Regions from separate parts of the Homo sapiens genome. Here region 2 is linked to region 1. Evidence: promoter capture Hi-C in human tissues and cell types (Jung and others, 2019). All regions are on one chromosome and are shown on one strand. The core of a region is centred on a gene start or on the middle of the fragment in contact, and the rest is flanking DNA. Distances in the headings are between cores, read along the strand shown. Region 1 holds the start of LOXL1 (lysyl oxidase like 1). Region 2 has its middle 22 kb from the start of INSYN1-AS1.

What was found. The method cuts DNA at HindIII sites, captures the fragments that hold promoters and counts their contacts. A contact is called where the count stands out against the background at its distance.
Region 2: a contact is called between a fragment that was not itself captured here and the fragment with the promoter of LOXL1 in region 1, in 1 of the 25 tissues and cell types used here (H1 embryonic stem cells).

What each region holds. Positions count from the first base shown.
Region 1 is chr15:73,925,160-73,927,711 of GRCh38, forward strand. It overlaps LOXL1 (lysyl oxidase like 1), which reads left to right and starts at 1,303. Exons shown (of 7, transcript NM_005576.4): 1 at 1,303-2,552. The coding sequence starts at 1,625. The region is part of intron 1 of LOXL1-AS1 (LOXL1 antisense RNA 1); the gene reads right to left. RefSeq lists an enhancer at 1,809-2,552 and a silencer at 2,551-2,552. The HindIII fragment of the contact is 8,654 bases long and covers 1-2,552 here.
Region 2 is chr15:73,788,768-73,791,319 of GRCh38, forward strand. No RefSeq gene overlaps it. Among named protein-coding and RNA genes, the nearest start is that of INSYN1-AS1, 22 kb to the left of the region's middle. The HindIII fragment of the contact is 3,541 bases long and covers 1-2,552 here.

The DNA.
Region 1 (2,552 bases), core at 53-2,552:
CTATAGTTCCCAAAGAATGTCCACTCTAGTTGCCTCCTCTCTAGGTGGGCTCCAGGCATTTCCAAAATAAAGAATATACAGGAGCCAAATTAAGGACAGGTCCTTCATACCTTGTTTATAAGCCCAAGAGGGCAATTTCTGCCCTTCGGTTCCCAGGAACACGGTTGGAGAAGGCAGCCCAGGGGAGGCCAGAAGAGCAGTATTTGGAGTGTGATTTCTTGGATGCCAAAGCGTTCAAACTTCTGGGACCCCCTCCTATCCCTGCCATTCCCAGAAGGAACAGAGAATCTCCCAAAGCACTCTCAGGAGCCATCTGGCCTAATCTTCCATTGGTAAGCCGTGGCACCTGGATCAGATAGAGTAAGGGACTAAGCCACACAGCAACAGGACCAGGCCAGGTCTCCGGAACCCCCTTCTGTTGTTCAATGCTTACTGGCTTCTCTGCCTCACAGTGACCCCTGTCCCATATCAAAGACAGCCCCCAGTTTCATTTTATCCATGTGTACACTCAAGTTATTCCCAGGCTATGCAGAGCCAAGAGATGTAGGACAGAAACCATACGTGATGTCTGGGAAGTTGATCTCTCCCAGGATCTCACAAGTGCTTTTCAGCTCAGGGATACACCCCACTCTTCAGACTGGGAAAGTAAGCCCCTGAGGTGTGCCACGAGGGAAAAGGTGCAGCTCCAGTGCCTCTCTTCGCAGGCCCAAGAGCTGCGGTGCACCTGGGACCTGGAATTAGAGAGTGGTCCCTGTTCAGCATCTCCCCGAGGAGGCCCACCAACAAAGAGGGTGTGTCTTTTTTTTTTTTTTCTTCCTATTGAGGGTGTGGGATAATGGTGGAAGGAACATGCAAAGAGGGTGTGTCTTAATTAGCACTGGCTTTAGGGAACAAGGAAAAGGGAGAACCCGGGAGTACGGGAAGGAGGCTGGGGCAGACAGGAGTCAGAGGCCCATTCCAGCCCAAACGAGAAGCCAGTGAGCAAGGTGGAGACCAGGGATGCTGTGACCAAAGCAGAGAGGAATGGGCGGGGTGGTGCTGACACCCCAGCCCCGTTCTGCCTGCCAGAGCCCCACTTACCAGGCCCGAGTCCCCAGAGGTCCCCTCCTACTCCCTGCTCGATTCCCTTCCTCAGAGGCAGGTCTGTGGCTTGGCTGGGAACTCCAGGGACTGAGGGAGCACTGCAGCTGTGGGACCGGCGCATAGCTAAAAGCCGGCGGGCCATAGGGCCCCGCGGAGGAGGCCCCAGCAGGCGGACCAGGAGGCCGAAGCCTCCCGACGCTCCCAGCCTGTTGCTTATTCATTCAGAGTGGGAAAGCGCCAGCCGAGCGGCCAGCCAGTGCGGGGCTGGCCATGTAAGGCCCACAGGCGGTCCTGCCCGCCCGGTGCCCTGCGGAGAGCCTCGTGCAGCCCTGGGCACCGCCCCTGCCCTGCCCTGACCCCTTGGCCTTGAAATGCTGTCATCGGAGGAGCCGTCCCGCTCGGGACAAGGCCAGCATGGACAAAGCTAGAGCTGGGGCAAGCAAGGAGCCTTCCTGTCCTCGAGGCCGTGGGAAGAGAAGCACGCCCAGGGGGCCACTCCTGAGAGCCTCTCTGTCCACCAGGCCTCTGCAGAGGGGTCACCATGGCTCTGGCCCGAGGCAGCCGGCAGCTGGGGGCCCTGGTGTGGGGCGCCTGCCTGTGCGTGCTGGTGCACGGGCAGCAGGCGCAGCCCGGGCAGGGCTCGGACCCCGCCCGCTGGCGGCAGCTGATCCAGTGGGAGAACAACGGGCAGGTGTACAGCTTGCTCAACTCGGGCTCAGAGTACGTGCCGGCCGGACCTCAGCGCTCCGAGAGTAGCTCCCGGGTGCTGCTGGCCGGCGCGCCCCAGGCCCAGCAGCGGCGCAGCCACGGGAGCCCCCGGCGTCGGCAGGCGCCGTCCCTGCCCCTGCCGGGGCGCGTGGGCTCGGACACCGTGCGCGGCCAGGCGCGGCACCCATTCGGCTTTGGCCAGGTGCCCGACAACTGGCGCGAGGTGGCCGTCGGGGACAGCACGGGCATGGCCCGGGCCCGCACCTCCGTCTCCCAGCAACGGCACGGGGGCTCCGCCTCCTCGGTCTCGGCTTCGGCCTTCGCCAGCACCTACCGCCAGCAGCCCTCCTACCCGCAGCAGTTCCCCTACCCGCAGGCGCCCTTCGTCAGCCAGTACGAGAACTACGACCCCGCGTCGCGGACCTACGACCAGGGTTTCGTGTACTACCGGCCCGCGGGCGGCGGCGTGGGCGCGGGGGCGGCGGCCGTGGCCTCGGCGGGGGTCATCTACCCCTACCAGCCCCGGGCGCGCTACGAGGAGTACGGCGGCGGCGAAGAGCTGCCCGAGTACCCGCCTCAGGGCTTCTACCCGGCCCCCGAGAGGCCCTACGTGCCGCCGCCGCCGCCGCCCCCCGACGGCCTGGACCGCCGCTACTCGCACAGTCTGTACAGCGAGGGCACCCCCGGCTTCGAGCAGGCCTACCCTGACCCCGGTCCCGAGGCGGCGCAGGCCCATGGCGGAGACCCACGCCTGGGCTGGT
Region 2 (2,552 bases), core at 30-2,529, 140 kb before region 1:
CAATTGGAGTATAGAGAAGGTGGCAGGCAGAGAGTGGAAACTGGGACTCTGCTGCATTGACACCTGCTAGGTGCCAGGCACGGCAGTAGGTGCTTTGCTGAACGCCACTCATTTATAAACTGCTTTACATGCACCACCACATTTAACCTTTGCAGTAGACCTTGGAGCTTGGCACTATTGCTATCCTAAGTTGCTATGAGGGAACTACACAGAGAGGGAAGTGACTTGCTCAGGATCCCCCAGCCGTTTAACAACCCCATGCACCACAGCTGGATGAGCAAGATGTCTGCAGTGAAGGGACAGAGGAATTGAGGCCAAGCTACTGGGGAGGGGTGGAAATGCCATTCTGGAGGATCTGTGACGTTGACAGAGACTTTATCGACACAACAAGCCAGCTAACCCCTAACGAACGTGTTGATTCATTCATTCATTCCATCAGTTACTCCAACATGTGGGACTGCATGGTTGTGAAAACAGAATATGACCTTGTAAAAGGAGAAGCCTTGGGCCCTTGATGCCAGGTGGGAGGAGGATGGAGAGCTCTAAGAGGACTGGAGATGCCAAGACGGCTTCTTAAAGAGGTGTGGAAGGACTGCGGATGGCTGCTTTCCCTCTTTAGATCCTGCTGTGGGATGCTAGCACAAAGTCTGGAAAATGCACCTGACTTTGCCTAGAGGGCAATAGGTCTCTTCCTGGGGGTGTCACGCAGGAGGGTACCTCTCTTGCTAGTCTTGCCCAGAGCTCCTGAGGAAGGGTCCCTGTGACAGCTCCTTCTCTCCCCTGATCAAGTGGCCTAGGCTTCAGGTAGCAGGACTGGTGAACTGGTTGGGCAGACATGGCTGTCCTTGCCTAGGCCAATGTAGTGCCAGCCATGGCCTTCCCAGAAGCCTTAGACTACAGGCAGAGCTGCCTCACTCTAGCTGTCCTAGCTGCTGGATGCCTGCCAGGTGTGTCTCTGAAGGCCTATCTTCCAAGACTCAGAGAGTGACCACTGGAAAAGACACATCTGGACCCTGAGATCTCCAATAAACTTCAAGTGTTCCCTCATCAGCGTCTCATGTGGCATAAACTTCCCAAATCCTTACTGAGGAGGTCATGATCTGTGCATATCTCTCAGGAGCCCAACAGCAACTATCTATTCAACAAATATTGGTGCTGGCCTTTATTCTGAATGTAGACTTCCATCGGGGCTCAGTGTGAGGCCAGGGTCAAGGCTCAGTGTACGATCAGGGTTGGGGCTTGGTCTATGACCAGAGTCAGGGCTCAGTGTGTGCCCAGGGTCAGGAGCCACTGCATGGACAGAGTCACGACTCAGTCTATGAATGCGATCAGAGTTCAGCCTGGAGCTGCTGTCAGAGACTAATCTTTTCCAGGCCTTGACTTTCCTTTAGAGCAAGACTACAGGCTCAGGGACTGCCTGCTAAGAGCAAGGTAAGGCAAAACAGGCTGAGTTCAAATCCTGGCTTACCACTTGCCAACTCACCTGGAGCAATATCCTGATCCTGCAAACCTTGAGTTGCTTACCTGTAAATGAGGACAAGGGGAGGCACCTGCCTTAGTTCATTCTGTGCTGCTGTAACAGAATTCTTGAGACTGGGTAACTTAAAATGAAGAAGTATTTATTGGTTCATGATTCTGGAGGCTGTGGAGTCCAAGATCAAGGTGTCAGCATCTAATAAGGGCCTTCTTGCTGTATCATCCCATGGTGGAAGCAGAGAAGGCATGTGCACATGGGGAAGTGGGTGGAGCGTAAAAGGGGGCCAAACTTGTCCTTTTATAAGGAACCCACTCCCAAGATAACAAACCCGCTCCTATGATAATGACATTAATCCATTCATGAGGGCAGAGCCCTTATGGCCTAATCACCTCTCATTAGACCCCACCACTAAACATTATTGCATTGGGAATTAAGTTTACAACACATACCTTTTGGGGCACATATACAAACCATAGCAGTGCCTCATAGGTTGGGAAGGCTTAACAGGTGAAAAACACCTAGCTCTGAATGTGGCACTTAGTGAATGCTCAGGAAATGGCAAACTCTGCTTTATCCATTATAACCATCATACTAGAGGCTCAGGATCTAAACACTTTACACCTGGTTCCAGTCCTGCCCTCCTGATTCAGGTTTGAGTCAGAGAGTCAAAGGGACCAGTCTCCCTGCTCATCCACGGCCAAGGAAGTCACTGGGTCCTGGGAAACTTCCCTGGAGTCAGGAAAGCTTGGGATAGGGAAGCCTCTTGGGGCAAAATCTCACCCCTTTGATGACCATCAGCTTTTCTCAGAGGCTTCAAGACTCTACCTGCCTGCTGCTTGTGCTCTCTGGTGGGCAGATGAGCCCTGCAGCCCTGGTCCCTTCAGTCCCCAGATTTGGGATGAAGACCCCAGTCTCCTAGATGAAGCTTGTAGCACTCCCTCCTGTCTGCCCTACTCTGCTCCAAGGGCCCTTTGCTGTCCAGGCTCTGTGTGCCTCTTCCTGCCTTCTCCAGCAGTCCCATGGCCCACTTCTTAGCCTCTCCCATCACAACCCTCCAGGATTCTTTCATTGTTTT